Linked DNA regions of Homo sapiens: region 2 is linked to region 1. The links are contacts of gene promoters, found by promoter capture Hi-C in human tissues and cell types (Jung and others, 2019). All regions are on one chromosome and are shown on one strand. Each heading gives the region's core, a stretch centred on a gene start or on the middle of the fragment in contact. The rest is flanking DNA. Distances are from core to core; before and after follow the strand shown.

What was found. The method cuts DNA at HindIII sites, captures the fragments that hold promoters and counts their contacts. A contact is called where the count stands out against the background at its distance.
Region 2: a fragment that was not itself captured here is called in contact with the fragment with the promoter of FOXF1 in region 1 in 1 of the 25 tissues and cell types used here (IMR-90 fibroblasts).

What each region holds. Positions count from the first base shown.
Region 1 is chr16:86,507,990-86,513,510 of GRCh38, reverse strand. FOXF1 (forkhead box F1) reads right to left here and starts at 2,984. Exons shown (of 2, transcript NM_001451.3): 1 at 1,963-2,984; 2 at 1-586. The coding sequence starts at 2,941. The coding sequence ends at 426. It overlaps FENDRR (FOXF1 adjacent non-coding developmental regulatory RNA), which reads left to right and starts at 4,651. Exons shown (of 4, transcript NR_033925.1): 1 at 4,651-4,856. RefSeq lists an enhancer at 725-1,491. The HindIII fragment of the contact is 9,827 bases long and covers 1-5,521 here.
Region 2 is chr16:86,224,537-86,230,057 of GRCh38, reverse strand. It overlaps LINC01081 (long intergenic non-protein coding RNA 1081), which reads left to right. Exons shown (of 6, transcript NR_104139.1): 4 at 3,281-3,418; 5 at 4,096-4,211; 6 at 4,391-4,478. Among named protein-coding and RNA genes, the nearest start is that of LINC01082, 31 kb to the right of the region's middle. The HindIII fragment of the contact is 3,067 bases long and covers 857-3,923 here.

The DNA.
Region 1 (5,521 bases), core at 1,735-4,234:
AAGTATTTGATAATGATTGGTCTCACATGTTTGCTTTTCTTCTAAAAATTTTCCCCCACTTCTGCCATTGGCCGGAAGGAGGGGGGACCTCAGCAGAATTCCTGTGTGGGTGCGGGGGCTTTCCCCTGCACAGCACCGTCTCAGGCGGGTTCAACAGGATCAAAAACTTTTATTTACCGATGGCTGCAGTCAGATCAGACCCACCACTAACATTTCTTAACAATTTTGAAGGAGTGAGGAAGGAGGTGCCAACCGCAGCGCTGTGTCTTTGCATTGGGGACTCCTTGCCAAAAACTCCGGTTGGGGAGAGGTGGAACCCTTTTCTTCTGCCGACGGTTATACCTCGAGAAGAAAGCAGTTTCTTGTGCCGGTCCAGGGTCCCTGTGACCCGCCTGCCTGCACCAGGAGGGCCTGCGGCGGCAGCCTCACATCACGCAAGGCTTGATGTCTTGGTAGGTGACCTGCTGGTGGTAGTAGGAGCCCCCGCCGGCCGAGTGCATGGAAGAGGACGCCATGGCGTTGAAAGAGAAGACAAACTCCTTTCGGTCACACATGCTGGGCGACTGCGAGTGATACCGCGGGATGCCTGCAAGGCGAGGCGACAGGAGGGGTTGGGGGAGCAGAAGAGTTAGCCACGGTGGCTCAGAGTTCAGGCAGAGGAGCAGTGCTCCCGTGGGGCGCACAGGGCCTGTCAGCCTGGCTCCAGAGCACGGCCGCCTCCCCGCTCTCCTCCCCGAGTCCCGGCCTTCCAGCTGCGCACCCAAGGAAAAGACTCCAGAACACTTGCCACGGCCTGCCTGCCTGCCTGCCTGCCTGCCTGCTGCGTGCCTGTCCAGCCTCGGACACCGTGCAGGGGCCCAGGGCTTCCAGAGCCATAGGGGAAGTGGTGAGGGAGACCAAGTGGAGGGCCCCTAACGCCCATGGCCGTCACCGCCAGGGCAGCCACCACCACCCCCAACCTCAGAGGCTACGACTGCCGGCGGGGTTGAAGGAGAGGCCAGTGCAGGGCCAGCGCCGGGCCAGCAGCAGGGGTGAGAAGAAGCTTCTCCAGAGAACAGGCCCCGGAGCCGGGGAGTCCCCCGCAGAGAGGCTGCCTAAGGCCTCCAGGCCTGGCTCCTGCCTCCTGGGGCTGCTGACAGCTGACCCTGGACTGGCCCTGGCAAGCTCACTCCAGCTTTTTCCAGAGCTGGGCCTGCAGGCTGCGGGGGGCCTGGGGCAGAATCAGGAGGCGAGGCTGCTGCATCTCCCTTGGCAGATGCTTCTGCATGTTCGGGGTATTGGGGTATCAGGGGTGTTGGGGGTGTGGGGACCTGAAAACTTGGATCCTAAAAAACAAGGAGCCCCCATGGCCCGGTCTGCAGCTCTGACCCTCCGGGGCCTGGCCACGGCACCCTCCTGCCTCAGTCACCACAAAATGCCCCTGGACTCAGCTGTGGGTCTGCCAGGTCTGGTCCCCTGAAAGGCCGGGGCTGAGCCTCTGAGCGCTGGCCCAGCGGCTTTGGGCCTAACACCTTCCGTTCCGCCCAGCCCCAGGCAGAGGCAGCCCTCCAGGCAGCCTGAGGGCCACCACCAGGGAGGGACAGCCATCTGGCCAGCGCTGGGAGCCTTGGGTCCATCCCAGGATCTTTCCAAGCTGTGAGGGGACTTAAGGGACACAAAAGGACTTAGGGCACTGGGGTCTGGGACATCTGGCTCAGGACCAGCCTACCTGGTCAGGCCTGGAGCAGCTGGCAGCTGGAGTTCGAACAGAAAGAGAAACAGATTGGCCCAAACTAGGGTCAAGAGCGGTAGTCACTCTTCGAAGGGGGAGAGGTGGGGCCAAGAGACACCTTGGGGAGCTGGTGCCTCCCCTCAGCCTTGGGGTTCCGACCACAGAAGTGGAGGGGCTCGCCCCAGCTGGGTCCCGCTGCCACTCAGACTCGACTTCCCGGGGACCAGGGCGCCCTCGGCCTCCCCACTCACCTTGCAGCTCGGCTGGGGCGTTGTGGCTGTTCTGGTGCAGATACGGCTGCTCCAGGGAGTGCGTGGAGAGGCTGCCGGACAGGGGGTTGGCCGCGGGGTTACAGGGGGACAGGGGCTGCTGCTTGATATAAGAGGCGCCGCTGTTGAGCGCCGCGGACGCCGAGGGCGGCCAGGCCGCCGCCGAGCCCGAGTAGACGGCGTGCGGCTCCATGACCCCACCGGCGCCGGTGGGCAGCAGCGGGGAGGCGGGCACCGAGCTGTCGTGGTGCGGGTACTCGCCGGCCGCCGCGCCGCCGCAGCCGCCCATGTACGAGTGGCCGCCGTTGGAAGGCAGGTGGGGCACCGAGTGGCTGGGCAGGGCCATGCCGTCCACGTTGCCCGGCAAGTGGCCGTTCATCATGCCCAGGCCGCCCTCCAGCGCCAGGCTGTTGGGCGGGCACGAGAGGCCGCCGGCCGAGCCCTGGAAGCCGTAGGTGTCCGGGAGGTGGTTGAAGCCGAGCCCGTTCATCATGCTGTACATGGGCTTGAGCGCCTGGCATTTCCTTCGGAAGCCGCGCGGCCGCCGCCGAAAGGAGCCCTCCTCGAACATGAACTCGCTGGCCGGGTCGATGGTCCAGTAGTGGCCCTTGCCGGGCCGCCCAAGGCCCTTGGGTAGCTTGATGAAGCACTCGTTGAGCGAGAGGTTGTGGCGCACGGAGTTCTTCCAGCCCTGGTAGGAGCCCCGGAAGAAGGGGAAGCGGCTCTGCAGGAACTGGTAGATCTCGCTCAGCGTCAGGCGCTTGGTGGGTGAACTCTGGATGGCCATGACGATGAGCGCGATGTAGGAATAGGGCGGCTTCTCCGGGCGCCGGATGCCGGCGTTGGTCTTCTTGGCCTTGGACGGGCCGGACGACGCGGGGTCCATGGCCGCGCCGCCTCCCCCGCCGCCGCCGCCGCCGCCGCCGTGCGGTGGCTGCTGCTTCTCGGGCGCCGAAGACATCGGGTGGCTGCTGCCGCCGCCGCCGCTGCCGCCGCTGCTCTGCGCCGCGGACGGGCCGGGAGGAGGAGGAGGAGGAGGAGGAAGAGGACGACGGGGGGGAGGAGGGCGAAGGGGAGGGGGCTGCGCGCGCGGGGCTGGCTGCACCTCTGCCGTCATCGGCGGCCACTTCTCCCGAGCGAGCCGCGGCGCGCCCGCCCCCGCGCTCCCGCCCGCCCTCCCCGAGGAGCTGCTGGATCCGCCGGCGGTTGGCTCAGAGCCCCTCTCTCTCCAACTCCCGCCTCCCCCACCTCTCTCCTCCCTCTTTCTTTCTCGCCCTCCCACAAGGAAAGGAGCCGAGCTGAGGCCGAGGGCAGCCCGGGCGAAGGCCGTGAGGAAGCTACCCCCGCCGGTATTTTTTGGGGGGAGGCACCACCTCCAGGTCTTACGGCCGTGCGCCCCAGCCGGGAGCAGCCCTGAGTCCCCGCCGCCCGCGGCGCTCGGCTCCGAGATTCCGGGCGAGGCAGCCTTCACTCCATCTCCGCTCGGCTGCGTCTCGCGGGTCGGCCTAAGACCCTCCCGGAGTTCCCTCCCTCCGTCCCTGCCCCCCTCGGGCCCCCGCGTTGGTGGGCGCTTAAAGAGCCCCCACTCTCGCCGCCCCGCGGCCGCCAGCAGAATCCGCCCCGCCTCCACCAACCTGGCGAGCAAGTGTTAATGCGCCCTCCGCCCGCGGTTCAGCCCCGGTGCGCGCTGGACCCCGCCTTCCCCGCCCGGGCGGCGCGGCGGGAAACGCTCCCTGGGCCGGGGCCTTCCCCGACGCGCACAGCCCTGTAGCAAATCGCAAGTGCGGCGGCCTCCCGGTCGTGACCATCGCAGGCACAGCCGGCTCGACTCCGGTCCTCGCGGCCGGCCGGCTAAGTTCCCGCGAGGGACCGCCTACCCACTCTCCCCGCCCCGGGAAGAACTGCGCCGCTCCCGGGATTTTTCGGACTCGCCCAGCAGCTTGCGAGCGGGCGGGCAGCCGCCGGGGCAGAGCGCAGGCGGAAAACGAAAGCGCAGCACGAGTCGCGGCCGCTTTGTCTCGGGCGCCGCGGGCCTGACGGGGGCGAGTGAGAACCCGCTGGCCCAGAGGCGACCCAGACCGCACAGGCCCCTGAATAAGCGGCGTGCTCAGTCACTCACCCGTGCGCGCACACCCTCGCGCTCTTGTCCACACATTAGCACACACATACATGTCTTGATGCACATGCAAACCCGGTAAATTACGCAAACAGACGTGTAAACACACCCATGCGTGTGTGCACACTCATATGCAGAGGGCGCTCAGGCATGTGCGCACCCACTAATGCACTCGTTGACACGGAAGCTTAAGGCCCACAGGAGCTTAAGTTCGCACTCACTCCCACTCACGCGTACACACGCCACGCTCGGATCTGAACTCACACGTAGTTCAGTTGCCCTCCCCCACCCCCAACACACACTGAAAACCCGCCTATTTGGCCCCGCGGCCCCGTTTTCAAAGCGCAGGTTCCGATTTCCCGAGAGATGGCAAAGGCCCTGGCAGGAAGTTTACAGGGTTTAACGTAAACAAGTTCTGGGGGATTCTTTAATAATAATAATAGAGAATTCCGCGTGCGCAGGGCGGGAGGGGGGAGTTGGCCTAATGCCCCTGTGGGCTCGGCCTGCCGCCGCCGCGGGGCCTCTGACACTGCGCGCCAGGCCAGGTTCCTGAGAGCAGACAGCGCGGGCTGGGAGCGCCGGCAAGGGCGGCCCTCGCGCACCTGGCTGCCAGCCCGCAGGGGGCTCGCACGCAGACCTGCCCTTGCCACCTCAGCGCTCGGGTGCGGGCTGGGGGCGGTGGAGCCACGAAAGGTGGTGCCGAGAGCGGAGCGCAGGACAGCGCAGGAGCCCCGGCGCATCGCGGCGCGCACAGACCCAGGTGAGTGCTGCTCTCGCAGCGACTGCTGGCCGGGCGCGGCCTCTCCCTCCAGGGTTCCGAGTTGAGAAGAGGGGGGCGAGGGGTGTTTTCGCGGGTCATCGCGAAGAGCCTAGAGGCCAAGCCCCAGCGCGAGCTGGGGCGAGAGGCGTGTGCCGGGCTCGCAGCACGGCCCGCGGCGCGGCGCGTTCAAAGCCTACCCGCCTCTCGGTTTTCTCCGGACTCCTTGTCTCCCGCTAACTACCCGCCCCCACCTTCCTGGCTCGGACGCCTTCATTTTCGGCGGGAGACGCCTGTCGCCTTCGGGGCGCCTGGCACGTCGGTGAGAGGAGCTGGGGGGCTCGCCGGCGCAGCCTGCCGGGCAGTCGCCGCCTCCTCCGCCAGATCTGCGCTCGCGGGAGAAGAGAGCCGCCTTCCCGCGCTGCCCTTCCGCTGGCCTCTCTGGGTCTCCGCGTGCAGACAGCCTGGCCCGCCTAGGGAAAGAATGAGTGTGGGACGTGACCCGTAGTGTGTGGTTGTGCATTCACGCAGGTAAACGCTCTCTGGCAGACCCGCTACCACTTCACACAACCAGCTCAGCCTCCGCGCACACAGACACGCTCCGCACCGCCCACGGCCTCAAACACCCTTCCCAGCGACCCTCACACAGCTCAGGCGCTCCCAACCCT
Region 2 (5,521 bases), core at 1,141-3,640, 280 kb after region 1:
CCCATGCCATCATCACGGGGTGTCACTGTCACTCCGCTAACACCTGTGCTTTGAGCCCCACCATCTGGGGGTGTGCTGTTTCCAAGAAAAAGCCACATCTACTCCAAGCTTCCCACCGTCAAAGGGCACAAAAGCCCTCCCAAGCCTTCATGGTGAAGATTGTCTGTGCTTGGCATTCCTAACATCAAGAGCAACAGGCAGTCTTTGCTGAGGGCTCACTATCCACAGAGTTGCATTAATCCCCACAGCACCTTCTAATAAAACAGTTTTATGCCCATTTTGCAGAGGAGGAAACTGAGGCATAAGGAAACCAAGTGTGTTGACCACAGTCACCACTAGTGAATGCTGGAGCTGGGATTCAAGTCCAGGCAGGTGACCCAGAACCCATGCCCCTCCCCATTGTGTCACAACCCCTCTGTGGTGTGGGTATGGTCTCATTTTCTCCATTTTCTACTGGACAAAAAGGGTGCATAGGGTGACTAGGAAATTCATCAGAAAATAACACGGAGCCCTGTCTAACCATGAGCACACAGCAGCCCAATCCCAGCTGAGGAACATTCTGAAAACACCTGAGTGGCCTCCTTCACACTGTCAAGGTCGTCAGAAACAAGGGGAGGCCAACAGGCTCCCAGCACAAAGGAGCTGAAGGAAACCTGATGGTTAATGCCATGTGGGCTCCTGGACAGGATCCTGGGGCAGAAAGAGGACATTATGTAAAAACAAAGGAAATCTGAATAAAGTATGGACTTTAATTAATAATGAAATAATAACATATTAATATGGGTTCATTAACTGTAATCAATATAATTGGTTTCTTAAATGTACTAGACTAATGTAAGAAGTTAGCAATAACCAGAGTGGGTGTGAGGTATATGGGGACTCTCTGTACTATTTTCTCAATTTAGTGTGTTCTTAAAAAAGTAAAATCAGTTAAAAAGAATAAGATGGCAGGAAAGATGGATAGCGAGAGGAAGTGATATGGTTTGGCTCTGTGTCCCCACCCAAATCTCATCTCAAATTGTAATCCCCTTCATCTCTACGTGTTGAGGGAAGGACCTGGTGGGAGGTGATTGGATCATGGCAGCAGTTTCCCCCATGCTGTTCTCATGATAGTGAGTTCTCACGAGGACTGATGGTTTTATAAGTGTTTGACAGTTCCTCCTTCACTTTCTCTCTCTCACCTGCCAGCATGTAAGACATGCTTGCTTCCCCTTCCGCTATGATTGTCAGTTTCCTGAGGCCTCCTCAGCCTCTTTATAACAATGTGAGAATGAACTAATATGGGAGGGAGGGAGGGAGGGAGAGAGGGAGGGAAGGAGGGAAGGAAGGAAGGAAGGAAGGTAGGTAGGGAGGGAGGGAGGGAGGGATTATACAAGAATCACAGGATCGTGACAGTTGCAGAATCTTGGTGTGGATACATGTGTACTATTTGTGTAATTTTTCTGTATGTTTGAAATATTTTATAATACAATGTTGGGAAGATAAAAAGGTATCAGAGGCTAAGGGCAGTATTCAAGTCTCACCCAAACCAAGTTTCCTTATTCCTTTGTGTGTGGGTGCATCCTCCCTGGAGGAGGAAAAGCACTACTCACTAATCATGAAAGCTTCATCACCAGCACACAACGGCAGGACACGGCATCTCTGCAGTGTATGATGTGGCCGCTGACACCAGGATCCCTTTTTCTTCCCAAGTAGATCCAAATCTTGACAGGGCCAGCATCCAAGTCTCTGAATGCCAAGGAAACAGGGCTAAAGAACAGACCCAGGGGATGTGTAACTCATCCTTCCCTCCTCATAAGCCACAGTCAGTGCCAGTCAGGGCATCAGCACACGTTACAGGCACGAGCTTTGCACTCAGCACCCCCTGGGCCACAGAAGGGGAAGAACCTCACACCCCAGGACCAAAGAACCTGTCGAGATTCAGCAAAAGTCCTGCAAAGAGAAAAACACACATCTGGTGGCAGGAGGAGGGCGCGGGGGCGGGACGGGCATGCTGCCGCTCCCAAGGCCCCTCCTCTGGCTGATTGAGGACGGGACGCACAAACAACCCCAAATGCTTCCAGTCTGGTCCTCGAGGAGAAAGGATATTTGTGGTAACGGAGAAATTTGCCACCCAGCGCTGTTGCTTTGGTGTCATGTTTCTGCGGTCACAAGTTATTCATCCAAAATTGGTCTCTGCTAAGAAACAACAAGAAAAAAAGTCCATGCAACAAAATGGGATTTGAAGTGATCTTCCATTCTGGGGTTGATATTGGGGAAATGAAGAGAAAAAACAAAAGCAGAAGAAAAGAGAGAATAGTATATTGGACTGAAGTCCTTCCACCTCACTCCATCCTCCGACACGGGGAACCAGGCTTCCTCCCACAGAGTCAGGATGGGCTTCCTGCCTGCCAGGGAAGGTCTAGACTCTGCGACACAGATGCTGGGGTGTGCTCTCAAAAGGCCAATGGCTAAGGCACACCCAAGTGGGGATCCCAATTCAGAATGCCTGGGACACAGTGGAGAATTCCCTTAAGACAGCAGAACCGGATTTCAGGATCCCATGAACCACCTTCCTTGCCCTCCTCTTGCCTGTTGGAGGAATATTTTCTCAGTCAGCCTCTGGGTTGGTCGCTGGAAAATAGTTATCCAGGCAGCAGCAGCAGCAGCCTACTAGGACATAGCACATAGGTCATCTGGCTGAGGTCCCCCTGCCCACAGGCACGACCCAGCTCTCCATCTGCAGGATAGGTGGCTGGGCCACCCACCCCAGGCCCAGGGAGGCTTCAGCATTTCACAAGCTCATCAACTTCAGCTCCACAGCACCGGCCACTCCCGGGTGCTGTGGACCCCTTCCAAGTGCTCAGAGATGCTCAGGGTCAGACCAGGGTGGAGTCCTGGCCCTGCCGTGTGAGAGGTCAAGTTGCTTGGATCTTGCTGAGCCTTGGGAGCTCAAGGTACAAAATGACAATGGCGATGACGCCCACCCCGCGAGGTTTTGGGAAGTCAACCATTCAAAGTGCTTCACCTGGCATTGGACCAAGGTGAGCGCTCAAAATATGTTACCATAATTATCAGGTGGACACAGCAAACAGCTTGGGTCTAATCCCTCTCCTGGGATCTGGGCCTCACCTGCCTGCAGCTAAGCAGTAAAGGAGCTGAGATTCGAAAGCAGGGAGTCTGGGCTCCTACAGGAGTGGTGAGAAAGGGTGGCATGATGGGAAGGCTGGGTCACCCACTACAGATAGAGCCAAACATGCCTAGAGTGTGCCCACCCCTTTCCATCCCTACCCCATTGCAGGTGCAGGTGGAGACGGAACCCTAGACACTGCTCATCCCAATCAGGCCCTTTCCAGGCCTGTCCCATTCCAATCGGGCATCAGATGTGGCATTGATCATCATCTACTTAACAAACGAGGCTCCCCTTTCAATGCACTTGGTGAGTTCACAGGCTACAGGTGGGCAATCCACAGGACCCCCTTGCCTCCCCTCCTGGCCTTCCCCCCTACCACCCCCAATATCAAGTGCAGCTGTGGGTTTTTGTGCTAATGAGCATTACAATGTGGTCAGCTTTTCATCTTATTGTTTCTTCTGATGACTGGAGATTTACCTCATGCAGAAGAGAGTGGAATACTGAGGGTGGGTGCCCCAACTCCCTAAAGCCCTGCTCTGCACTGATGGCCGGAGGTGGGCTAGAAACCAACTGGTTCGGCTGGAGAAGAGGAAGCAACTCATGGACAAGGGTCCCCTTGGGGGGTGGGTCCTTTGGAGAAGGGCCCACAAGGTGTAGAAAGAGCACAGTCCCCAGTCACTGAGCAGCACCATGTGCCCTGGGAAGACACCTCTCAACCCGCCAGCCCCAGGGCTTGCCCTCCTCCTGGGAGAGACTGACAAGTGCTGAAGCTGCCAAGCAATCACAGACAGAGCCAAAGAGCCAAGATATCAGAGGCCTGAGATGATAATGGAGTTGGATTCCTGGAACTAGTCTATCCCAACACCACTTATTGTTTCACCAATCCATTCATTTACTCAAAGAATTACTCATTCAAAATATAAAAGCATTCCATTTTGGTTTCAGAAGAAAAATTACTCATTCATTCAACAAACATTCCACAGGGTCTCCTCTGGGCCAACCTTGGTTCTGAGATAGCAGGTGCTGAAATACTGCTGAATCCTCAAAGCCAGACTAGCCAGTGCCTGGCACCTGATGGGAATATGATTTCAACGAACAGGTGGGTGGATGAATGGATGGATGGATGGACAAATGGGTGGAAGGGTGGATGAATAAATGGGTGAATGGGTGGTGGTGGGTGGGTGGATGACCCTCACCTCCTCACAGAAAGTAATCTTTGCTGTGTTCACATAAAATCCACACAACAATCTCTCTCTCTTTTTCTCTCTCTCTGGAAAGAAATGAAGAGACCACCCAGAAATACAGACCCAGCCTTTCATTCTCTTATATTCCTTATGTCCAACATTTATTGGGCCCTTACCATGTGCTCCATATGGTGCTGGGTCCTGGGAGTTGGAGTTACAAACAACTAAGATGACAGACTTTGCTCCAAGTAGGGATTCTTGGCTCTCAGCCCCATGGAGAAAGTCTCCTTATCACCTTTCTGCACAGGGGAGGAAATCGAGATCAAAAAAGTTAAGAGACTGAGTTAAGGCCACTCCATCAGCTGCCCCAAAGCCCCTGTGTCTGCTCTGGCTGGCACTCTGAGGTCCCACTGCTGACAAGAGTGGAGTAAGAGGAAAAAGAGGTGATGTGCAATTGTGTGAGGAGTTCTTACCACTCAGGGATTCAGAGGCTGAAGGAAGGTGAGGGCTGGAAGGTCCAGGGAAGGCTTTAAGGAGAAAGAGAGAGGCAGGTAGTGGGAATGAGGTGGGGTGCTGTAAGCTCTAAAGGTCAGAGAGGATGAAAGGGAGTGACCCTTGGTCAGACCAGAGGCTGAGCCACCTTCAAATGCGATTGGCCCTAGCATCAGGTCTGCATTCCCCTCCCCTGCCCTTTATCCTTACCACCATTACCACCACCACCAACATCATCATCATCAACAACACCAATAACAACACCATCACCACCAACACCAACAACTTTATCACTACTAACTACAATAATATCAACATCATTAATATCAACATCATCATCACCAACATTGCCATCATCAACACCAATACAACACCATCACCAACACCAATAACACCATCACCCTCAACACCAACAACACCATCACTACCAATAACATCACCAGCACCAACACCAGCACAACAACACTATCATCACCAACAGCAACACCGTCACTACCAAAAACAACAGCAACACCAACACCATCACCATCACTACCAACACACCAACAGTACCAACAACACTAACACACCAACACCATCACCATCACCAACAACAGCAACACCAATGGTAACAGCAACAATAACAGTCATAAGAGCTAAATACATTTGACCCTGACCATGTGTAGAGCACTGAGCTGAGAGTTTTAAGTGCATTATTTTGTTTGAGTCTCCCGAAGGAGAACCGTGAGAGGGG